4 separate regions of the Homo sapiens genome follow, and all the other regions are linked to region 3. Evidence: promoter capture Hi-C in 16 types of primary human blood cells and fetal thymus (Javierre and others, 2016). All regions are on one chromosome and are shown on one strand. Each heading gives the region's core, a stretch centred on a gene start or on the middle of the fragment in contact. The rest is flanking DNA. Distances are from core to core; before and after follow the strand shown.

Region 1 (6,321 bases), core at 3,709-6,208, 250 kb before region 3:
AGAATTCTCAAATTTATTATGAGAATTATCCTTTCCACAATTGTCAAAATAGATTGTTTGGCCATAAACATCCTTGCAAGCCTAAGCAATTTGAAATTCAGGGCCTATATCAGTTTCCTTGCCTCCACCCCTTTCACCCCCAAAAGAAACCAGTCAATTAGATAATGGATAAATTAACACTATATTGACAAGCAAAGAATAATTAGAAATTAATAAGCATAAAGAGAAATGACTGTGTAAAAAAATCACTTGTTTCAGGTTTAATGTAGTCACTTTGGGACAGGAATATAAAACATGAAACATGAAAATAGTCAGCAGATGCCCTTTCCATCCATTAATAAAGTATCTTTTAAATAAATAATCAATCAACCTATAGATTCTGCCATTAGGAAATTAGCAACAGTGCTTTGCTGTACCAGTAGAGCTATCAGATTAGACAATTTTCATATGTATAGGTGACATAACATTCTCCTAAAATTTTCTATCAGGTTTCTAGATGGAGGTTAAAAGCCTTGTATGATTTTGTAATAATTGATATACCAAGCCTGGCATCCACAATAAATATTGATGTTTTCCATTCTGTAAAAATGATATAAAACATATTAGTGCTTTTATAGTTATGCAACTTTGTATGTTTTGATACCAAAAAAGATCCAGAAAATGTGAAAATACAGATAGTTATCTAAGTATAGCTTCACCGAGATTGGGTGATTTAATTATCAATTTGAAGGAAAACTCTTTTATCTGTAACAATGATCATAACTGAACTACTGAACTGGCCAGCAAAATTAATGTCTTGATCTGCCACTCAAGCAGTATTTAGTCATTATTTTCAAATGACTAAAATTAAATAAAATAAACTATACCTTTGAGAATCATTTTAACTGAAGTAGCCAGTTATAAGGGCTAGCCACAGGCAGTGTTTACAAAATGTCTCTTTAAGAGGTGTAAGATTATTTCAGATCCACAAAGAAAAAGCAGCAGATGGTCCTGCTTTTCCCTTGTATCACTTGAAACATACAAGACTTAAATATTAAGTTAAAAGTGTATTGAGAATACTTCAGAAAACAAATCTATGCCCAAATCACTCCTTAAAGCATGGAAAGAAAAATAATGCTAAAGTGGAGGAAAATAATTAAAAGTGGAATTCCCTATATATTCTAATTTGCAAGATGAAGCTTCACTCTTCCTGCAAAATACTACATTATGGGTATGAAGACGCCACACCAGTCCTAACCAAAACATGTCTCAGCCCTTCTCCAGCCTTCACCAAATATCACATTGCCAGCTTCTCTTTTGTCATGTCCTTGCACTTCCACAAATTGGATTTCCCATCAGAGTGTTAGTACACTCTGATGAACTCAACAAAGCAGAAGTAAGAAAAAACAACTTTAAAAATGTTGTTTTTATATTACAAAGCAATGTTTCAAATAAATGTTATTCAATATTACTGAAATGGCATTGAAATAGTCATAATGAGAAAAGTGAGAACTTGGTTGAACTTTCTTATACTGGTTTTACAATTTAATTCTGTGTTAGTTTGCAATACATTAAAAAAAGGAACGACAGAATCTTTCAAAATCCTTGGTCCAGTCCTACTGCACAAACACAAGCACCTACTGCCTCCCTTCTCTCCCGTTAGTCAATCCTAAGCCTTGCCTGAGAAATATCAGTGATTCTGTCAAATACTACAGACTGCTCTCTATCCTGAGTGCCTTGAGAAGGTCTCCAGCTATTCCAGTGTCACCTTTGACAGGAGGCAAAGGTGGTAAGCAAAGGTGTCAAGGCCCTGTCATCCATTCTGCCTTGTGTTTCTTTCATTTCCTGTACAGGGTAACTGCTCAGAAAAACTCAACTATTTCTCACAGGACAAATCATATAAAACCTTACAGGATTAAAAAAAGAGAGAGAGAAGCGCTTGTAATGAAAAGAAACGAAAGAAATAATAAGAGAACACACAAGAGGAAACCAGTCACACCCATTCTCTCTAGTGCTATGTAGCTTAACCCACACCCAAAGTAAACTGCCTTCACTTCAAGAAGCTGTCTCTCTGTAAATAAACTGACCAATGTATCTTTAAGACATAAACATCTTGGACTGCCATAATAAACATTGCAAAATAAATACAAAATAACATCTGGAGGCAAAGCTTTGCTAGGAGTGGGGTGAGAGGGAGTGCTAGCTTTTCTTAGCACCATTAATAAAGTATTAATTTCATTTTCTTTTAGTTTGGAAAATGCTTTCCATTATTAACCAAAAACAAATCAAAGACTTACTGATTTTACTTTAAAATCCAAAGAATGGAATACTGTCTGTCCATAATGGCTTTTTGCAAGTTGGGCTTATCTTCTTAGTTATATTTTAATTCCCTTGTTTTCTACTGTTTGAAACTAGCACTCAGTCACCAAGCAGTTAATTTAGATATGAAAATGGTTTATATTTAGGTCTAATTATTACTGTCCTGTTACATAAAAATCTTCTTTCTGTCTTGGGAAACCAATTTCTCCAATATAATGTACCAGAAAAACACAATACTTCCATTGTAAGAGTATATTATAATGATTATGACATTCAACCATTGTTTCTCATTGCAATGGCAGAGACCATGTTTCATGCACTTCCTATCAGCATCCGACTTATGTGTAGTTATCCCATTCAATTAACATTTATCATCGGCAAACAGCAACTGGTCCAGCTCTCTACCTGTACAAAATAATTACATCAAATGCTTGAGTTGCTCCTAGTAAATTTTACTATAATATTATTATGTAGATAATTGCCCTAGGAATTACTTCTCTTATTTTGTGTAATGCTCTGGTAAGATTTTTTGTAGGTGACATAGAAAGCATTGTATTCCAATGCCAAGAAAAAAAAAAAACTCATTAGAAATATATGTAACTTACAGCCAGGCGCCATGGCTCACGCCTGTAATCCCAGCACTTTGGGAGGCCGAGGTGGGTGGATCGATCACCCGAGTACAGGAGTTCCAGACCAGCCTGGCCAACACGGTGAAACCCCAACTCTACTAAAAATACAAAAAATTAGCTGAGCATGGTGGCAGGCACCTGTAGGCCCAGCTAATTGGGAGGCTGAGGCAGGAGAATCACTTGAACCCAGGAGGTGGAGGTTGAAGTGAGTCGAGATTATGCCATTGCACTCCAGCCTGGGAGACAAGAGCAAAACTCTGTCTCAAAAAAAAAAAAAAGAAAAGAAATATATGTAACTTATGAGTAAATTATAATACCTCCTAAAAACCATTATACCTAATTTACAATAACTACTACTAATAATGACAAAATAAATTATTTGAAATGTATATACCCTAAATTATTTCTTGTTCCCAATGTATAAATCTTTATTTTTATAAAATGAAATAAACTTGTTAACTATCAGGGGAACAGTAAATGCCTTCCATTTAGTCAAATAAATATGTAAGGATATTTAATCTCATATAAGTGTTTTTTAAAAGTATACTTGTCTCTCTTTCCATAGGAAGTAATGTCTGGCAGAGGAAAACTGCTGAGCTATGTCTGAGATAGTTTCATCTGCTCACAGGCTGCTCCTGATGGCACATATTTATTGTGTTTCTCACATGGCCTAAACTATACCAGCAAAATGAGGAATTCAGTTTTCCTTTTAAAAAATTTTCCTTTTGAAAATAACAGGCATTTTACTAAACATTCCTTTTTTTCTTATTTTGATTAGCCAAAATGCCAGTTGCAGGCAGGCTACATAAAGGATATTCTAAATTCCAGACCCTCTTTCATCAGATATTGCAAAGGCTGAAAGTAAGATCAAATTTACCCAAGCCACAAGTTGTAATAAATTTAAAAGAATCATCTTTGGCTTCCATTATTAGTCATTTCCTCTCTTTCAACAAACAATAATTCAACAAATAAAAATTTTAAAAGTTCTGTCTATTTTAGGCTTTGCAGATAGAAAGACTTGCATTTAAATCTCTTTATTATTGACCGTGCACTCTTGGAAAAGTAATTTATTTGATTCTCCATATATTCATATATAAAATAAATATAATATTTTTACAGACTGTATAGAGTTGTGAAGATTAAAGGAAACTATGTGGCATGCCAAGTATGTACTGGGTTCCCAGTAAATTGCTACTAATTAAAATGTATGTGCTTTGCTTAAAATAGAATTTCCAAGTCACTCTGAAACAGAAATATCGATATTTCTGTTATATATAAATATATATAAATACAATCATGTAAACACACATACATACACATATATTTCCTTCAATAATCAATCTTTCTATAATATTTAATTTAATCAATAGGTATTTACAGTATATCTACTGTTCACCAGGCAACATGCTTGATACAGATAATACAAATCCACAAAATAAAATTCTTGTCTTTGAATCTTCCTACTAGGAGAAACACATAAGATACCCAAATGCTATGAGGGTATTTTACCTAAGTCTGTGCCTCCTGGTGCGGAGGTCAAGAGGAATGAGCCCCTAACTCAGGCTTGGATGCAGGAGCAGGAGAGGATGAGTGTTTAGTAACGTGAGCTAATTCCTCAATCATGAGTACTTCTTTGGCAGTGAAACAAAATAGGAAATGAATGTCGGGTTGGGTATCACAGGCCATGAGAAAAGCCTGGCATAAATGAGAATATGCAGTTTGGGGAATTACAAGTAGTTTCTGTGTTCTCTGGCAAGAGATTTGGGAAGTGTGAACAGGAAACAGATGATAAATGGCCTTATATGTTATGGGAAAGAGTCTATACTTTATCTTGAAAACAGTGATGAGTCTGTTAAGGTTTTTATGAGGAGCAATGAAATAATTCTATTTGTCTTAAAAGTTGCCTTTGGTGACAATGAAAAGATGGATTTTTAAGAATGAAGAACACTCGGATGAGTAACAGTTTTAAGTATAGGAGTATAAAATTGTATAGTCAACTTCAAAATAAAAAGAACCTGAATTAATGCAGAAAAAGATGAAGGAGAGGAGGGAATAGACACCAGAGATCATTTGAAGGTAGAAGCCATGAAACATGTAACCAATAGCAAGAAGCAGGGGAGCAAAGTGAGTCCCATGTCTCACTCGGTAAGCAGTGTCATTAATCAGAGAATCACCCACAGCTGAGAGTGGGATTGTTTATTTGCTTTGTTGAGATTGAGGTGTGTGACAGATATTCAATTGAGATAATCTCCTAGGAGTCTGGAATATTATAGGTCTGTCCCTGGGCTAAACTGTATGAAAGGTAGAGATATTGATTTAGAAGTAATTATCTAATAAATAAATCACAGGGCATATGTGAGTGAGCCTAAGGAGAATTCAGTGAAAGAGAAGAAAAAAGATTGAATACAATTAGCAATATTTAAAGAGTGAGTAGAGAAACAGGGAGTTATGAAGGGAACTGAGAAAGATGGACTCAGAGGTAAACAGGTCAAGAATAAAGAAAGCAACATTATAGAAACATTATGGGGCACGATTATATCAAATATTGCAACAAAATCAATCAATCTGAAGACTGGCAGGTGTCCCCAGGACTTGCCAATATGGTGTTCTTTTAGAACTTATTTTAACAAAGTTCTGAGGACAGAATCCAGGTCTCAGTGAGCCAAGAAAGAATGAGAGGTAGGGAATTGAAGATGCAGAATGTAGACAACTCAATAGAGAAGGCTTCTATCTGTGGGTAAGAAGGAAACTCAAGGTACAGCCTACAGAGAGTCAACATATGTTTTATTTGGGTCTGCTTTATGAAGAAATTAGACTACAGCCATTAACCTACTGAGGCAAAGGAGAAAAAAGAGTAAATGTTCTAATTTAACAAAGAGTAGAACTATCCACACCTGTGATAAAACTAAAATTCCACTATAAATATTAAGCGTGAGGGATAAATGTCAATTTTAACAGAATTTCCATTCAAACTTGTTTTCCCCAATACATCTTCCCAACTTTCTCTCTTGACTTCCCATATCACTTCATAATTTTCAGTAAGATATTTTTGCCTTCACCTTTATTTCTCTGTATCCTTTTCTATATAAATGCATTTGGTAATGCTACTTCATCTTAACTGATTTTTTTTTTCATGTAAAATCAATCTTGGTTGCTGCCCTCCTTAACACCTAAGTCAAATTTCTCAACTTTTAGGCAATATTGGCTATTCAACTCTGTGCCCCAAACTCGTGTATACTATATTACTTTCTACTTTTTGTACATTATTTTTTAAATAAATTACAAATAAAATAAAAATAGATGTCAGAATCTTTTTAAAATGTAAAATGCTGTAAAATATCAAGTCTGATAATATTATTAATATCAATTTAAGGATGCCTTATCTCCCCCTTGA
Region 2 (6,684 bases), core at 487-2,986, 140 kb before region 3:
GCATTTATATGTTGCAGCTGTAACTCATATATAATACATGTATAAGCCTCAAAAGTCCTGAGGCCATTTTAAGTTTCAGCTTTACACAGATTTATAGTTCCTTCTCAAGTATATAGGAATATAGTTTATAGGAAACATGGAAATATCGGGAACTTTACATAAACTATTTCTAGTTCTTGTTAATTTTAAAATCATAATGTGATAAACACATTCCATACTTTATATGTATTGTTACAATTCTTAAAATTATCCATATTCAAAGTGCTTACTTTTATGCTATATATTTCTTATACTATGACTTCAGAGATTTCATTAAAGGATAATAAAGAATTCATCTACCCTATAAAATGCTTTTTCAAATAGCTGGACGTCGGGCCAGGTGCAGTGGCTCACGCCTGTAATCCTAGCACTTTGGGAGGCTGAGGCAGGTAGATCACCTGAGGTCAGGAGTTCGAGACCAGCCTGGCCAAAACAGTGAAACCCCATCTCTACTAAAAATACAAAAACTAGCCAGGTGTGGTGGCGGGTGTCTGTAATCCCAGCTACTTGGGAGGCTGAGGCAGGAAAATTGCTTGAACCCAGGAGGTGGAGGTCACAGTGAGCCAAGATCACACCACTGTACTCCAGCCTGGGCAACAGAACCAGACTCCATCTCAAAATAAACAAACAAAAAAGTAGCTAGGCCTGGTGGTTCATGCCTGTAATCCTGGCACTTTGGGAAGCCGAGGAGGGCAGATCATTTGAGGTCAGGAGTTTGAGACCAGCCTGACCAACATGGTGAAACCCTGTCTCTACTAAAAATACAAAAATTAGCTGGGCATGGTGGCCCACGCCTGTAATCCCAGCTACTTAGGAGGCTGAAGCAGGAGAATCACTTGAACCCAGGAGGCGGAGGTTGCAGTGAGTCGAGATCGCTGCCACTGCACTCCAGCCTGGGTGACAGAGCAAGACTCTGTCTCAATAAAATAAAACGAGATCAATGTTTTAAATAAAATAAGATTCTGAGTTCTAGGCATACTCATTGTAAAGCAGATTCACCATTCCACATTTCCTTGATAAGACTGACAGATGTATACAGCAACAAGTGACGAACACTTGCAGTAATACTACTCCTCAGCTGTTAACCAAGATTTACTTCAGGCACTGAAAAGAGCAGATTACTTGGAGAATGTAGGTACTAGAAAGAATGAACTTTACTAAGTGATTCCTTATTTGAAGCTGGAATAAAAACTCTCTCCATGTTTTCCTGCATGACTTATGCCAGACCAATGATGTATATATACTATATATATATGTGTGTATATATATATATACAATGATGTATATATAAAACAATAAGCATGTTTCCACTTCCATCTCTAAATATATAGAAAAAGAATCGTGGTCACATGATCTAAAGAGACAGAAACAACCTTCTAACTAAAAGAAAATTAGAAAGTAAAATAACCACTCACTTTTTAGAGATGTTTTCCTAACCAGCTTATATCAAACCCACAACAGTCTATTATATCATTCTGTCTTTAACAGTGTCTTTCATGAACTAAGGTGAACAGTGATACAACCATTTGAGAGATGAAAAATACATATATATAGGTTGAGCTATGAAAATATGAAATCTAAACGCTCCAAAATCTAAAACTTTTTGAGTGCTGACATGATACTGTAAGTGGAAAATTCCACACCTGATCTCATGTACACAAACTTTGTTTTGCGTACAAAATTAATGAAAATACTGTATAAAATTACCTCCAGGCTGTGTGTTTAAGGTGTATATGAAATATAAGTGAATTTTTTGTTTAGAGTTGGGTTCCATTCCCAGGATATCTCATTATATATATATATGTAAATATTCCAAAATCTGAAAAAATGTAAAATCTGAAATACTTCTAGTTCCAAGCATTTTGGATAAGGGATACTCAACCCGTATAATCAAATGACTTGCAGGTGACATAGCTAATTATTAGATCTTGGAGGGAAAAATCCGTCTTTTCAAATTTCCAGCTTAGTGCTATAACCGTTCAGATACATCACAAATTTAAGTCTAGTGGGGTGCTACAAATTATGCATCATCTCATTAATGATAATGTTTACTAATCTCAAGATCTTTGAAATAAAAATAATAGCTACCTTTTTCAGATACGGTGCTAGTAGGCACTTTATATATATTATCTTGAATCCTCACAATAGCTCAGCGAAATATCCACTATACTCCTCATTTATAGACTAGGAAAATAAGATTTAGAAAGATTAAGTGACTTGCCCAATCACTTAGCCAGAAAGTATTGAAACCAGCTTTCAAATCCAAGTTTATCAAAGCCAGTGTTCTGATTAACCAAAAGATTCTTCCTCACATGTGCAAATAATAATCATATACTACATACAGTGGCATGAGACTTATGGAATATCATGAAAACTTTACTTTTTTCCCTTTCTAATTTCATTTCCTTCCTTTCTTTTCTTTTCTTTGTTTTTCCTAGAAGATGTGGTAGAGGGGGAAGGAGCACTGAATTCATGAAAACAAGTTCCTTGGAGGATTGATAAAGGAAGATGATAGTATTTCTACTCTGTCAGGGTAATTCAAAAGCATATTTTTAAATTTGTTACTACTTCTTGAACTTTACTATGTGCCAGAACTAGGTGATTTATATACATAGCTCATGTAAAACTTATCATGAGATGCTAAAGAGCTTCCACTTAAAGGAATTCAAATTCTTGCTGATTTTTAATGATGACCACTTTTGTTCATTGCTAATCTTCCTGTCCTTCATTTTCTTCAGCCCTTCCCACTACTGCACCCTAATCTTTAAAAAGCAAAACAAATAAACAATAACAAAAGTACTGACTTCATATGACTGCTAAAGGAAAAGTGATGATATTGAATTTGATCTATCATCTTAATATTACTAATTTATATTACCTATTTAAAATGTTACAGTAGCTCCCTCTAGTTTACAAAGCACTTTAGAATACATTAGCTAACTCAATCCTCAAAAACGCCTGTGAGATAGATTTTATATATCCCATGGAGCTGAGGCTAAGAGGAAATTGAGCAACTTTCTCATTTAGTTGAGTGGCAGGCCTATGTCTAAACCCAAGACTTCTCACTCTGCATTAAGAGCTTTTCTTTATCCTATTTTAGTCACAGGTAGGCTCGACTAACCCAGGAATGTGCTATATCAATGTACTTGAAAAACAGAAACACCTAACACCTAGATCTTAGTTTCTATCACCATCCTCTACCATTTTCCATAACCAGGACTCCTTGAAGAAATCACCGATTATATAATTGGAGCAGGGAAAATACAAGATTAACTTGGAGTATCTAATAATACTAGAAAGTAAGGGAGTACTCAAAAAACAAAAGGATAGGGGAGTGACAAAAGAAGACAGGACTTTGGGTCTTTGGTCTTTGGGCTTCCAATGGCCAAAGCTGGAACAATTTGAGCAACAAAATGAATAATGCATATAAAATAAATATCCATGAGTGCATATTGATATAAATAACTGAATAAATAAGTATGTGAGTAAATGGGGAAGAAGACCCAAATCCCCCTTACATAAGAATAATGGACTTATATGTCCCCCTTCCAGGAGATGGAATTTATTTTCCCTTCCCCCTTGAGTGTAGACTAAACTTAGTAACTTGCTTCCAAGGAGTGGAGTACGGAAAGTAAATTTAAAATAGAGTAACCAGGCAAACACTATCTTCGCCAGGTGACCAAGGTTAACATCATTAGTGATAAGTCACCTTGACAGCATATTCCCTTGATGTGATGTGATGAAAATAGAAGCTTACCTCTGGTCTTTCTCTCAGAATCCCATAACCCCAGCCTAATATGAGAAAAACACCAGACAAATTCCATTTGAAGGATATTCTACAGAATATCTAACCAGCACTCTTCAAAACTGCCAAGGTCATGAAAAACAAGGTAAGTCTGAGAAACTATCATAGGTAAGAGGAATCTGAAACAATGACAGCTAAAGGTACTGTGGTGTCCCGGATTTGATCTTGAAGCAGAAAAGGGATACCAGTAGAAAAAGTACTGAAATATGAATGAAGTGTGGAGTTTCTTTTTTCTTTTTAACACTTTGTTGAATTATGACTAACAGGTAAAAAGCTGTACATATTCAATGTATACAACTTGATGAGTTTGTAGATAAGTATACACCCATTAAACCATCACCACTCTCAAGGCCCTGACATATACACTACCTCCCAAAGTTTCCTCCCACCCCTTTTATTATTATTATTATTAACTTTGTGTGTATGTGTAACAAGAACACTCAAGACCAATCCCTGCCCATCCCCACCACCAAGCCCCTGATAATCACCATTCCAGTCCTGGCTTCTCTGAGTTTCACTATTTTTTTGAGACAGGGTCTCACTCTGTCACCCAGGCTGGAGTGCAGTGACACCAACATGGCTCAATGAAGCCTTAAGCTCCTGGACTCAAGCAACCTTCCCGCCTCAGCCTCCCAAGTAGCTGGGACTACAGGCATGTGCCAGCACACCCGGCTAATTTTTTTAATTTTTTGGTAGAGACAAGGACTGGCTATGTTGTCCAGGCTAGTGTTGAACTCCTGGCCTCAAGCAATCCTCCCATCTCAGCCTACCAAAGCACTCATATTATAGGTGTGAGCCACCATGCTAAAATAGGTTTCACTATTTTAGATTCCATATATAAATGAAATCATACAGTAGAGTTTCATTAATAGTAAAGTAACAATGTGGGTTGATATGGTTTGACTCTGTGTCCCCCAACCAAATCTCATGTCAAATTGTAATTCCCAGTGTTGAAGGATGAAGGAGGGGCCTGGTGGAAGGTGACTGGATCATCGGGGTGGATTTCCCCCTTGCTGTTCTTGTGATAGTGAATGAGTTCTCATGAGACCTTGTTGTTTGAAAGTGTGTGGTACTTCTCCCCGCCCTCTGGCTCCACCATGGTAAGATGTGCTTGCTTCACCTTTGCCTTCCACCATAATCCTAAGTTTCCTGAGGCCTCCCAGCCATGCTTCCTGTATAGCGTGCAGAACTGTAAGTCAATGAAATGTCTTTTCTTCATAAACTACCCAGTCTCAGGTAGATCTTTAGAGCAGTGTGAGAACAGACTATCACATCGGTTCATTAGTAGCAATAAATCTATGTACCATAGGAATATAAGATGTTAATAAAAGGGGAAACTGGATGCAGGGTGTACAGGAACTCTGTATTCCATCTGCAACTTTCCTGTAAATTTAAAATTATTCTAAAATTAAAAATATTTTTTAAAAAAGAAATCAATACACTTAAAAATAAACAGACAAAGTGGGGCATTTGAGGGGGCTGGAGTAACATTAACAGCAAGAGAGAGAGAGAATCCCACCCTCCAAAATATCTAACACAACTGAGAGTGTTCTGCTAAACTAGAAATAACAGTAATTTCAAAGCTTTTAACAAGAGCCGTTCGCAGATATACTACTAGTAAAACCTCAGAATCATTTGCTTGTTATATTGTTCCTCCTATAATCCTACCAAAAACAAAACAAACCAAAAAATCCCCATAATCCTTTGAAAGTTATTAAAGTCATCATAACCATTAGTAAAATATAAATGTATCTGCCATACATGTCTAATAAACATGTAGAATCAAATGCATAATTCATATAACACTTGCCTCTGGAGTTCCTAGTGATTTCACAGCATTCAGATCAGATCCTGAAGAGAAAGTATTTTTTGCCCCACGGACAATGAGGCCTTTCCCCTCTGTCCAATTTTCCAATTCAATTACTTTTTCCAGAAGTTGTAGCATCATAACACCTGCCAGAGATGGAAGTGGGAAATCACAAATATATGAAGGTGACTGGAAAAACAGAAATAATTTATAAATCACAAGTGTCAAGCATACTCTTAGGTCCTATATTTTATAAATATTTACTGAGTGTCTATCAAATGCCTACTGCACTGGCACTATGGAGTATACAGAAGAGGTACACATGGCAGGCCCTGCATTGTAAATGTAAATTTATTATGTGTCTATCTCTCCATTTATCTTAAGAAATCACATAAATATATGATTATGTAGAAGAATAAGAATATACTATGCTGTCCTAAGAATAAGAAAACGATATGGTAATAAGAAAAAATTATTTCTTAGGGTAAAGATAAGACATAGACCTGACTTCTCAGCAATACATGTCTCAGTCAATAAAGCTTTATGGGTATAACATGACTATGAGATCTTATGATATATTGGACATATGGTATACAGAACAAAACACAATTCCTATACTACTGACATCAGAATTAGTATAATAGGATGTTAATTGAGGAAATGAGTAATAAATACCATCTTGTTCCATGGTTAACAAACTGTCCTCTGAGGGGCTTGAGGCATACGATGGAAGTTCTTCACAGGCCTACCAACCATTGATTCTATGATTTATAGATTGTTACCTTGATATTACTCCAAAATTCTATTGGAGCTTCTTTATAATAGACAAATTTAACACAGAAACAGCTGGGACTGGCATTTTAAGATCTAATCAATAACTTTTAGATATGCTTATCTTTGGTGATCTTCTAAGTTCACAAAGTTCATGGTTTTCAACATGACTAGTTTTAATTTCCTCTGCCTAGGCAATGCTTTAGAAGCCAATGTATAAAGATCATAACAGCGGGTTAAAACTGGCAAAAAATTTGTACCA
Region 3 (6,373 bases), core at 396-2,895:
ACAAGAAATTATTTTCACCCCCAAATTAGCCTCAGTTTGGTCATGGCAGCAATTCTTTCTCTGAGGGGTGCTCCATTCTTAGGACACCTGGGTCACTACCCTTTCAACCTCCAACTCGCCCATTGAAAACTGGACTGCATCCAAACAAACTAAACAGCGTTCCTTAGGGGCAGCTGCTCCATTGCTACTTCTCTCTTTTTAGATTATTGTTTAGAGTACTTGTTTCTTGCTGTCCTTATTTCCTTTTGCTAAACATATCACTTTTCACATAATTAAAGATTTTTCATTTATAAGAGGTTACATATTCCAATAGAAATGCCACACACAGTAGGTACTGCTAATCTCACAATTCCTAGAAGACTCATTTGGCCTGAAGATGTTTTGCTTCTGCTTAACTTTGATGGATTAGGAATTCCCCAGCTTATAACCTATCAGAGTAATGTACCATTTACCTCCTAAATTCTCTATCCCTTTCTCCAGGCTATTATAATCACTTGAATTATTTCAATGAATTAATAAATCTCATTCCTCTCTATTGTTCACTTGCAATTGAATCTTTCCAAAGACCACCATGATTTGATTTTGTTAGAGTAAAAGGGAAATTTTTTTCATTGCTGTGTATTGCTGATTTAGCACATTCCTCATGCTCCAACAAGGTCAAAGAGACACTACCACATGCAATTCCGAATGAATCAACTTTACCGTTTCATTTAATTATCTTCTTCCTTGTTTTCTTTACAGTTATTTACTCAAATTAGAAAACATCCAAGCTGTATGCACACTGATTTTACTTATAAAATGCAAACTTTAAAAGCAAACATTTGGTTTGAGTAAACAAATGTCTAAAACTAACCATCGTGAACAAAAGACATAGTGGTAAGTTTCCCTCCTAAACGTAGATTATTCAATTATGAATGGCATAGACTTCAGCTCAAATTACAGAAACACTAACTCTACAGTGAGTCCACCACCACCTTAGATAAAACTAAAATTTATTTTTCACCGCAATTTTCAAATACCAAGTCTCCAGGATTGTGACCTTTAATTTGCAAATGTTAAAAGTCTTTATATGAATAAAAAAAATCACATTTGAATAAATATACTTAGTGAAAATCAATGATGGGCAAAGTGCTTTTCAAACAACTGAGAAGCAGTGTTGGAAAAACAGTCTCAAAGAGCGGATGGTACTGTCAGTCCACAGTTGGGAAATCCACCCTGAGCAGCTGAACAGCCTTTTTCCTAGGAGTCAGTACAATCTGTTATGCACCCCGCCCACTGTTTTTAAGCCCAGACACAGACAACAGCAGAGACAGATGTTGAAATTACACTCCACTTAAACAGTATCCATAGTTTAAAACATCTCAACAGCAGCCCCTTTGTATCCTGCCATAATTAGTCACTTGCTTGTAAACTTGCCGGAAAGAAACATACCTTTCACACTGGGGAGAAATCCTATGGATGCTCGACCACTGGTCAATTAGCAGTGGAAGAAAGTGGATGGCTAGCTGTCTTAAAGAGAAAAGTCTCAGCTCGGTGAATCTCGATTCTTTACAAGAAAAGGGGATGCAAAATAAGTCCAACCATTCCACAGAGCAGTACTGACAAGTCCCTTTGAAACCTTCACCACTTTTACAAGTCAAAAAGCTGCTCAGCTTAGTGTCACAGCAGCAGCTGAGACTACTGTGACGTCAGTTACTTGGAGGCGGCCTTCAAGCCACCTCTTCCAACCAGAGCTCTGTAACTTTAGAGCAGCTCATGCTCTGGGTAAACAACTCCAGGTCCAGGACATTTTTAGCTTTTATAATGGAGCCCAGTATTTTCAAACTTGCCAAAAGAGCTGGTTGTTAACATCATACAATGACAATGGCCAATTTTAGATTTATTTTATTAGGAAAGTAAACTCATTTTTTTATAGGCAAGAATTATCTCCCTCCTTCCATAATTCTTTCTCCTTCTCAGCTGGTGGCAGGATGTACTCTGCTGCACCTTTAGAAGTTTGCATCTGGATGTGGCAGAACAATATGTGTAGCATAATTATATATATTATGCACTCTCAAAAGATCTGTGAAAGTTATCAAACTTCTATCTTCAAATAAAATAGAAATGGAACATAAAGTCCAACCTCTTAGCTCTCTGTGATTCTGACAGTGTGTTGCTTTTATCTACAGTAGTAGCGATGTCTTTACGTTAGAGAAAATCAGAGCCCATGGGAAAGGATGAGATTTCTTATTGTGGGAGGACAAAACACACACACACACACACCCCAAAAATGAGATACCTATGGGCTTATTTTCCACTAAAGTGTGCTGCAGCCATAGGAAGAGAAAGCAGCCTAAGTGTATGGAAAAGCTCTCTAAATCATGATCAAATCAGCCTGTTCTGAAATGCTAGGAGATCTTGCCTCCCCAGCGACATTTTCAGGTTTATTGTGGCTTTGTACACACATGCATCTGATGATATTTGGTTTAATTTAGTCAAAAAAGTCTCTAGAGCAATTTTTTGCCTAACTTAGCAAATACACAAGTTTAAACAATAAGGTCTTATCTTCAAGTCTGAAGAGCTTCCCTGGTGTGGTCTTTAAAGTAATACATATTCACTCACATTATTTTCACCTGCTTCCAGATAAACATTTCATGAGGAGCTAAAGTTTAGTAATAGTAACCTGCTCACAGTAGGACTTTAATACATGTAGGACAATCAAATGAAACCATACTCTGTGTCTGGAAAGCCTGACATCATAATCTCAACAGCAATAACAACAATAACAGTGATAGTTATAGTAATAATAGTGATTATTCACTGAGGGGCAACCCTCTGCAAGGTTCTGTGCTAAGTACTTTGAACAGACCTTTATCTGAGTTCACCCTCAGAGCAATTCTGTCTCTAGATACTGATAATCTGATCTTACTGATAAAACCCAAGCAAGGCTCATTGTGGTAAAGCATCATGCAAAAGTTCATAGAAATGCACCCATGTGGAGGAAACGGGTTTGAACTGTTTTGTCTGATTGCAAACCATGGAATTTTGTCATAGAGATCTAAGTTTCAATTCTGCTGCCACCACTTATCTGTGTGATCTTGCAGACCCTGATTCTTCCTTAAAGACATAATTATATTTACTTTAAGAGGCCATAAGAATATGAGGGAATATATATAGCGCCAAGCACACAATAAAGGGTAGCTCATGTCTGCCTCCATGCTTATGAGGCTAGGAAGAAGATTCTTTGAGAGAGGGAAAGGGAGGAGGGAGTTGCACAAAAACATCAATACAGAATTGTCTTAACATTGTTTCTGGCCGGGTGTGGTTGCTCACACCTGTAATCCCAGCACTTCTGGAGGCGGAGGCAGGTGGATCACATGGGGTCAGGAGTTCGAGACAAGCCTGGCCAACATGGTGAAACCCTGTGTCTACTAAAAATAAAAAAATTAGCCGGCTGTGGTGGCTCAGGCCTGTAATCCCAGCTACTAGGGAGGCTGAGGCAGGAGAATTGCTTGAACCCGGGAGGCAGAGGTTGTAGTAAGCAGAGATGGCATTCCTGCACTCCAGCCTGGTTGACAGAGCAAGACTCTGTCTCAGAGAAACAAAACAAAAAACATTGTTTCCTTTACCTTTTCTTCTACTCCAAACTTCTTAACTTCTATGTATCACTTGTAAATCAAACTAAGACTATTTTGTAAATCCTATCGAAAATTCAGATAGTATGTGTCTAAGTTACAAGAGATGTTAGGTTGGACTATACTTCCTAAGTGTCACTCAGTAGTACCCATTTCAATCTCTTTTAATGGCTGTCCCAGTGTGATTGTCCCAGGGCAATCACAAATAATTGCCCTATGTTTTAGAAAGAATTATGTCATTCATACCTGATGACATACTAATTTATTTCAATGTATATCAGATTCAAGTGCTTCATCTGCTTCTTGTCATGGTAAAGCTGATCTTAAATTGTACACAGAATCAAATAATAATGAAAATCTTTGACAAAAAGTTTACTCCAAGTTTACCACTTATTCTAGTATTTACCAACTTTTTCTGTTGAAGTTTATATATATATAATTTATATTATATGTTATTTATATAAAATATATAATTTCCAGGCCATATTTCATACCCAAAAGACAGAAAGTAAGTCAATTAGGTGATACGGTGCAAAGTCAAGAAATGTTCAGCACAGCTTTTGATATTTTCCCTTGAAAACTTTTTGTTTTTTAAGAAAACTTTTAAAAGAAAATTTACCACAATTATATACATAAAATGAATGCATTTAAAAGACTGATGCTGGTATACTCAGCCCTACAGTTACATTCAGACATCTTGAACTGCCTGAGGTTTTCAAGCAGGTGTCAGAATGACTGAAAATCTTATGAAAAAAATGCAATTTGTTTTGTAATGCAGTTTTTCTTTAAACCATTTGAACATTTAAATCTTCAAATATGAAATTCACAAATGATTGCCCTATGTTTTAGAAAGAATTACATCATTCATACCTTATGACATACTAATCTTATTTCAATGTATAACAGATATGTAAAGAAATGTACATAATAACACTTAATGGAAAATAAATGTAGAAACACTGCCTGCTGTCAAGAAACAAAAAAGAAAATTCTAAAAAGAAATGGAAAAGATCTATATTAATAATAATATTAAGGCACAATCAAAAACATTTTAAAAAGGGTAAAAGAGAACTAATGCGTGCATAAATGTCACTAGCAGGTGTTTCCAGACTTACAGAATTTTAGAGCCAGAAAGAACTTCTGAAATCATCTAGCTAACCTTCTCATTTTACAGTTGAGGGAAGAGGCCCTGAGAGTAACTCATCTGCTCAAGGTCACAAAGCCACTTAGTGGCCATTCCAAGAATAGAATCCAGGTCTCCTCATTCCTGGTGGAGTGCCTTGAAGTTCAAAATTCCAAGAAGTGCAAGGGAAGAAAATCGAAATAAGAATGCTGGATATGAGAGGAGACTGAGAAGTTGATTTCTGGCTTTGGCAAATTTTAAATTCAGTTTTCTTCTATGTCCAAATGAGAGAGAAGATACTCTATCTTTCAAGTATGACATAAGAATCATATAGCTGAGTATTTATTTATTTATTTTTGAGATGGGAGTCTTGCTCTGTCACCCAGGCTGGAGTGCAGTGGCGCAATCTCAGCTCACTGCAACCTCCGCCTCCCAGGTTCAAGTGATCCTTCTGCCTCAGCCTCCTGAGTAGCTGGAACTACAGGGGCATGCCACCATGCCCGGCTAATTTTTGTATTTTTAGTAGAGACAGGGTGTCACCATATTGGCCAGTCTGGTCTTGAACTCCTGATCTCGTGATCCACCCGCCTCGGCGTCCCAAAGTGCTGGGATTACAGACATGAGCCACTGTGCCCAGCCAGCTGAGTATTTATTACTATCTAAAGAGGCTCGTGTCCTTAGCTAATTGTAAACACTGGGTCAAAATAAAAAGGCAAATGGATTTTATCTTAGCAGTTAAAAAATCTGAAGATAAACATGGCAACATGGCCTTAAGCATGCTAGTGCCAGTACATATTTAATCTATGGTTTTGTTTGCAGAATGATCCTGAAGTGTTACAAAGCAGTTACTCATTTGTTCTCTTTATGGTATGACAACCTGGTTGTTATGAGACTGGAGAGCTTCTGATTTCTTGTTTATAACGTTTTTCCATTGCTTATTCTTTTACCCTTTAAACATATTTAACAATAAAAGGGGTACTGTGTTTCTATTTTCATTGGAAAGAAGATAGAAAAGATTGAAAAAGAGAACAACTTTTAAAAAAACTAAACTTGTTCTTTTTTGTTTGTTTTAGTTTAGTTTTGTTTTTGAGATGGTCTTGTTCTGTTACCCAGGCTGGAGTGCAGTGGTGTGATCATGGCTCACTACAACCTCAACCTCTGGGGCTCAAGCAGTCTTCCAGCCTCAGACTCCTGAGTAGGGGACCACAGGCACTTGCCACCATGCCCAGGTAATTTTTTAATTTTATTTATTTTTTTTTTTTGAGATAAGGTCTTGCTATGTTGCTCAGGCTGGTTTTGAACTTCTGAGCTCAAATGATCCTCCCTCCTTTGCCTCCCAAAGTGCTGAGATTATAGGCCTGAAACACTGTGCCCCGCCTAAACTCATTCTTCTGCATGTTAAAGTTCAAAGGCTACTATAAAGGACGTATTTTAAGAAATCCTTCCTTCTTGAATAATGTCTGCCCCTTGCAATTTTCAAAGTACTTTAAGATCATGAGATCTCAGTTGTTTAGCAGAACTCTTAAATCTTAAATTATCTTCAATTCCTAAGGTCTTGGGTACTTCAATTAACATTCCATTTAACAAATATTTGTGAATACCAATTCTGTGCCAGGTTAGACCAAGAGGACTCAAA
Region 4 (5,998 bases), core at 3,159-5,658, 180 kb before region 3:
AGTTACCTGCAGTCATACCACTGGACTCCTGCCTGGTTAACAGACGCTGTCTCTTAAAACAAAACAAAACAAAAGAATTGTGGGTAAAGTAAGAGCAAATTGACTTTTGAGTGATGGTCCGAAAACCTTTGTGATGGGTAAAGGGTAGAATGTCTGTATAATTTTTCTGAACTGGAACACTTGTTGGGAGACCAAGGGCAAACTGGATAGATGCTGGGCTGACCTATGTGGTCATCCTAGTGAAGAATCATAAGCTTTATTGGGGAAAGAGCTTTGTGAAGCTGTTTTGGCTGTTCAGAAACCCATCTTGGTTTATGCTTAGATTTTTATCTCCATTTTGGAGAATTCATTGACAATGAACAATAGCTGGGTAAATGATTTGCTTGCCAAAAGATACAAAGATGGGTTGAATTTTATATTTGTAAATGTAGGAACTCCTTTAGATTTTAAGTTATATAAAGCAAGGATTAGAACTTAGATATTTTTATGTATCTTACAGATTCCAGCTTGAGTTCACAATTAGAACTCAAGTGTTGTGTTATTTGAATAAATCTAATCCTTTGATATTCTGTTCCTCACAATAGTTACTTTTAGGAGTTGATTTTTCATTCATCCAAAAAATATCAGTTCAACAAAAATTGATTGACAATTTACTAGCTATTTAAAGATATAAAAATCTCCCTATCTTCAGGGGATTCATGATTTCACAGAAGAGTCAGACTTCACAAATGAATTGAAATTAGTGCATGTGATAAATTCCGTAATAGAAAAACATACAAAACATAGAGGAGAGAACAGTTAACTTTCTGGAGGTAGTCAGAGAAAATGGTAGAGATAACCATTTCTGTGTAATATATTAAAGAACAAATAGGCATTCATAAGCTGTAAAAGGGAATAGATCGTACCAGGCAGGAGGAAATACAGAGCTACAAAGGGAGGTTTGCAGGACTATGAGTAATTTTATACAACTAGATTATTAATCTATGGGTGGTTGTTGAAGATAAAAAAGACTAGAGACTAATTATTTACAGTTTAGATCTTTAAAACCTTTTAATGTTGTCCTAAGGAGCTTTGTCTTTATTGTGTAGGCTGAGGACCCAATATTGTGCTTCACATATGGAAGAAACCTGGTCCATTTTGCCTTTTAAATATATCAGTCAGTCCTAGCTACTTGGGAGGCTGAGATGGGAGGATCGCTTGAGCCAAGCAGTTTGAGGTTTTAGTGAGCTATGATCATGCCACAGCATTCTAGCCTGGGAAACAGACTGTAGAGTGAGTGTATGTGTGTGTGTGTGAGAGAGTGAGAGAGAGAGAATCTCACTCAAAGGCTTAATAAATGAGGGTGATACTGACACAAGATAATCAGGCTGAACAATAGTCCAGGTGAGAGTTATGTAGGTTTAAACTAGGGCACTAGCAATGGGTAGAGAGTACAGGATAGATTCCAAAGGGATTAGGAATAAAAGTTGACAGAATTTATGGTGTGGTTGGTTGGGGTGGGGGAGCAGGGGGCTGTGTGGTGAGAGAAAGGACTTTCTCTTTTTCTCCATGAACACAAAGTAGTTAAGACATGAAACCTGAGATGTCATATTGTAAGAATTATGCAGAAATGGGGGTTTGTAAAATGTGTGTATATGAGATAAAGATATGAGGGGGCCAAGGGTTCTGTTAAGAAGTAAAAAAGATTGGGTTCCAGAATGGGCAGGAAAGGAAATGAGATCAGGAACTGGATAAAGGAAAGGAGATGGTCAAGAGATGGTAGGTCCCCATGAAATTGAAGAGCAGGTGTGGGAATGAGTAGGCTGGAAGAACCAGAGCTTGTGATCTGAGAGTCGGATTAAGATTTCAGAGAGGCAGCAGTTTAGGTGACAACTAGCTTTAAATGTGATTATAATATTTGGTTGCTGGAGAGTAGATTAATTTCTTCAAATTTAGGATTTAAGGAACTGAAAATTGAGGATGGTGTTTCTCAGATTGTATTTGAAGGACTAAAGCATGAGTACCACCTGGGGTGAGATTCCTAGGTTTAAACCTATGTCTACTGGCCTAGAATTTCTAAGGAAAGGGGCTGAGAATATGTATTTCTAACAAGCAATTTCAGTGATTCTGATGAATAGAAGTTGGGACAAGTTTAAGAACCTGTGCAATAGGTGTTGGATGGTTCATTTTCAAGGCTATTTAAATAGGCTGATAGTCATGTCAGGAGTTAGGATGAAGAGGATGATCAGTAGTGAAAAGATGACATTAATCCCTTACAGGTGGTGAGAGAGCAGTTTTAGGGGATTATGGGGTATGTTAAAGTCAGTGTGATAGAGACTTGAAAGAAAAAGTAATGATGTTGGAGCAGTAAATTGTCTCCTCCTGTCCTATATATAGGGAGTGTATGAAAATGTGCAGTTTTCTGTTTGGCGTAGGCTGCAGCAAGGAAATGAACATAGCCTTCTTTGATGCCATTGAAGTTGTAGGCTCCTTGAAGTTGGTGAAAGGGTTGAGAGGAAAGTCAAAATAGTGGAGTCCATTTCATCTAAAGTCAGAGTAAAACAAAAAGGTTACTTAGAAACCTTGTTTAGTCAGTATATTAGGCAGTGTTCTCTAGGGGGACAGAACTAATAGAATATATATATGAGTTTATTAAGTATTAGCTTACACGATCACAAAGTCCCACAACAGGCTGTCTGCAAGGAGCAAGGAGAGCTAGTCCGAGTCCCAAAACTGAAGAACTTGGAGTCTGATGTTCGAGGGCAGGAAGCATCCAGTACAGGAGAAAGATGTAGGCTGGGAGGCTAGGCCCATCTTTCTTTTTCACATTTTTCTGCCCGCTTTATATTCACTGGCAGCTGATTAGATTGTGCCCACCAGATTAAGGGTGAGTCTGCCTTGCCCAGCCCACTGACTCAAATGTTAATCTCTTGGCAACACCCTCACAGACACACCCAGGATCAATACTTTGTATCCTTCACTCCAATCAAGTTGACACTCGGTATTAACCATCACAGTCAGTTACTTTTGAAAGTTCTCTGATTTTAAAACAAATTGTTTGTTCTGTTAAACATTTGGTAGGATAAGTCAGCTTGTATTTAGGGGCCACATAATGGCATTAAGAATATGTTTCTTTAAACACTAGAATCTTAAGATACCGTAGGGAGATAGATGCCCATAGTATGAGAGCCACATGGAAATAAAAGAAGATTGAAGTCTCCTCTATCTTGTGTTTACTGTGAGATCTATCATTTCTTTAGTTATCATGTGTTCTTGATTATTCTGTGTAATATGATGTGCGTCCTGTAGTGGACATGGTGAGGTGGAGATGGAAATACTAAATGAGAAGAAAGAAGATTAATGACTGAGATGGTACAGGTTTTTAAGAGTACAATTCCATGTAGTTAATTTCATTTACAATGTTATGCAACTATCACCATTATAGATTTTCCACAACTTTTTTTTAGCATTACAAACAGAAACTCTGTACCCATTAGGCAATAACTCTCCACTTTCCTTCCTTCACTCTCTGGTAACTTCTGATACCTTCTGCTTCTATGAATTTGCCTATTCTTGATATTTCATGTAAGTGGAATCATACTTTTCTGTATGTGGCTTATTAGTATGTTTTCAAGGTTCATCTATATTGTAGCACATATTTCTTTTTATTACTGAATAATGTACTGTTGTATTTATAGACCACATTTTGTTTATCCATTCATCTGTTGGTAGATACTTGAATTGTGTCCACCTTTTGCCTAATATTTCCGCAGTGAATATTGGCATACAAGTGTCTGAGAACCTCTTCAATTCTATTGCTATATCCCTGGGAGTGGCATTGCTGTGTTAGCTTTTTGAGGAAGCAACAAATTATTATTCACAGCAGCTACACCCTTTTACCTTCCTACCAGCAGTTTTCAAAGGTCCTATTTTTCTACATCCTCACCAACACTTATTATTTTTCCCTTTAAAAAAGTTGTAGCCTCCTTATAGATGTATCATTGTGATTTTGATTTACATTTCCCTAATTACTAATAATGTTAAGGATCTTTTTGTGTGTTTATTGGCCATTTGTGTATCTTCTTTAAGTTCTTTACTCATTTTTTGCTCACTTTTTAATTGGTTTGTCTTTGTTGTTGAGCTGCAGTTCTTTACATATTCTGGATATTAAACCTTTATCAGATACATGATTTGCCAAGATACTCTCCCATTCTGCAGTTTGTCTTTTTATTTTCTTAACAGTGTCTTTTGATGCACAAAAATTTTAAACTTATATAAAGCCCAATTTATTTCCTATGTTTCTCATGCTTTTGATGTCATATCTAGGAATCCATTGCAAATCTAAGGCCATGAAGATTTGCTCCTGTGTTTTCTATTAAGAGTTTTATGGTTTTATTTCTTATATTTAGGTTATTGATTCATTCTGAGTTAACTTTTATATATAGTATACGGTAGAGGTCCAGCTTAATTATTTTGCATGTGGAAATCCAGTTGTCCCAACAACATTAGTTAGAGGTGCCTGTTTTCCCCCATTGAGTAGACTTGACACCCTTTTGGAAAATCAGTTGGCTATTGATGTATGAGTTTATTTCTGGACTCTCAATTCTATATCATTGGTGTATTTATCTGTCCTATGCCAGCACCAAACTGTCTTGTTACCTTAGCTTTGTAGTAAGTTTTGACATTGGATTTTTCAAGATTGTTTGGGTTACTTAGGGTCCTTTGCAATTCCATATGAATTTGAGGATTGCTTTTCCATTTCTGCAAAAAAGGTTGTTGGAATTGTGATAGGAATTATGTTGAATCTGTAGATCACTTTGGGTAGTATTGTCATTTTAATATGTTAAGTCTTCCAATCCATACATCACTTGTCTATTTACTTAGCTCTTCTTTAATTTCTTTCAGTAATGCTTTATAGTTTTCTGTGTACAAGTCCTTCACCTCCTGGGTTAAGTTGATTCCTGGCTATTTTATTCCCTTAGTTACTTTATGAATGAACTGTTTTCTTGATTTCTTTTTTGGATTGTTGTCTCCTGGTGTATCAGAACACAACTGATTTTTTTGTGTGTCAAACTTGTAACCTGCAACTTTGCTGAATTTGTTTATTAGCTTTCTTGGGGATTCTATGAGATCTTCTATCTAGAGAGAATAGACATAGTTTTACTTCCTCCTTACCCGTCTGTATGCCTTTATCTCTTTTCCCTAATTTGCTCTGCTAGAACTTACAGTCATGTTGAATAGCAGTGGTAAAAGCATGCATCTTGTCTTTAATTTTTCCCACTTTTAAGATAAAGTTTTCCACTGAATTTTTTGAAAGGATTATACATAATTAACTGATTCTCTTGATCTTAATTACTCTTTTTTTCTTTTGCAGCACAAAGAATGAACCAGCAGTGGAAGAGAAAATACTGTAAGCTGGCTGACTGCTGGTGAAGAAAATGCTTTATTTTTGTGGCAGGCATCTGTGGGATCTGTAATAGAAATGTAAGTGTAGCATCATGGTTTTTTTCAGTGCTGCAGTAAATTAAATGGATTGGTTTAACGTGTGGTAAATTGAGTATCTGTCATATGTAGTTTTAATTATATTAAATGAGCATTTTCTTTTGACTTATAGGTGCTTTATTAACAATTTATTTACATTAAGTTATCGTTAATGTAGATTTCCAAGTCTCCTCAAAAGGAAAAGTCTCTATAAGAAAAACTGAAGACACAGGAGTTTGCTCAAAGAATGCTGAAATAGATCTCCAGGTCCTCTGGGTTCTACCTTCTTTTTACATAATAATTTTCTTAAATAACTAAGCTAGGCAAGTAGTACTAGCTTTTGTAAATAAGACAGACTACTAGGTTATAAAAACTCTAGTTACTAAAAACTTGTTTCACTAAATTAAAGGAATTTCTACATAATTGATTTTTTTAATGTAATAATACATCACTGCATTTTATTCATATCACTTCACTCTGATCCCCAGTTTTACTAGTTGTGCTTTCATCATTTATCTTTGCATGATATGCTTTAAAG

The links. Contacts are between HindIII fragments. The CHiCAGO score rates a contact against its expected background, and 5 or more counts as called.
Region 1: a contact is called between a fragment that was not itself captured here and the fragment with the promoter of KIAA0408 in region 3, in 1 of 17 cell types (monocytes). The highest score is 5.3, in monocytes.
Region 2: a contact is called between a fragment that was not itself captured here and the fragment with the promoter of KIAA0408 in region 3, in 3 of 17 cell types (monocytes, M0 macrophages and M1 macrophages). The highest score is 6.9, in monocytes.
Region 4: a fragment that was not itself captured here is called in contact with the fragment with the promoter of KIAA0408 in region 3 in 1 of 17 cell types (monocytes); the score reaches 6.3 in monocytes.

The regions. Positions count from the first base shown.
Region 1 is chr6:127,203,177-127,209,497 of GRCh38, forward strand. All of the region lies in intron 1 of LOC105377989 (a long non-coding RNA gene), which reads right to left. Among named protein-coding and RNA genes, the nearest start is that of RNF146, 61 kb to the right of the region's middle. The HindIII fragment of the contact is 5,622 bases long and covers 2,148-6,321 here.
Region 2 is chr6:127,321,348-127,328,031 of GRCh38, forward strand. It overlaps ECHDC1 (ethylmalonyl-CoA decarboxylase 1), which reads right to left. Exons shown (of 6, transcript NM_001002030.2): 3 at 5,655-5,797. It overlaps LOC105377994 (a long non-coding RNA gene), which reads left to right. Exons shown (of 4, transcript XR_001744334.2): 1 at 1-2,572; 2 at 3,815-3,929. Among named protein-coding and RNA genes, the nearest start is that of ECHDC1, 19 kb to the right of the region's middle. The HindIII fragment of the contact is 4,105 bases long and covers 1-3,789 here.
Region 3 is chr6:127,457,744-127,464,116 of GRCh38, forward strand. KIAA0408 reads right to left here and starts at 1,646. Exons shown (of 6, transcript NM_014702.5): 1 at 1,432-1,646. All of the region lies in intron 7 of SOGA3-KIAA0408 (SOGA3-KIAA0408 readthrough), which reads right to left. LOC124901399 (a long non-coding RNA gene) reads left to right here and starts at 5,851. Exons shown (of 2, transcript XR_007059750.1): 1 at 5,851-5,966; 2 at 6,353-6,373. The HindIII fragment of the contact is 12,466 bases long and covers 1-6,373 here.
Region 4 is chr6:127,274,878-127,280,875 of GRCh38, forward strand. RNF146 (ring finger protein 146) reads left to right here. Exons shown (of 3, transcript NM_001242850.2): 2 at 5,354-5,463. The coding sequence starts at 5,462. Among named protein-coding and RNA genes, the nearest start is that of RNF146, 11 kb to the left of the region's middle. The HindIII fragment of the contact is 8,313 bases long and covers 253-5,998 here.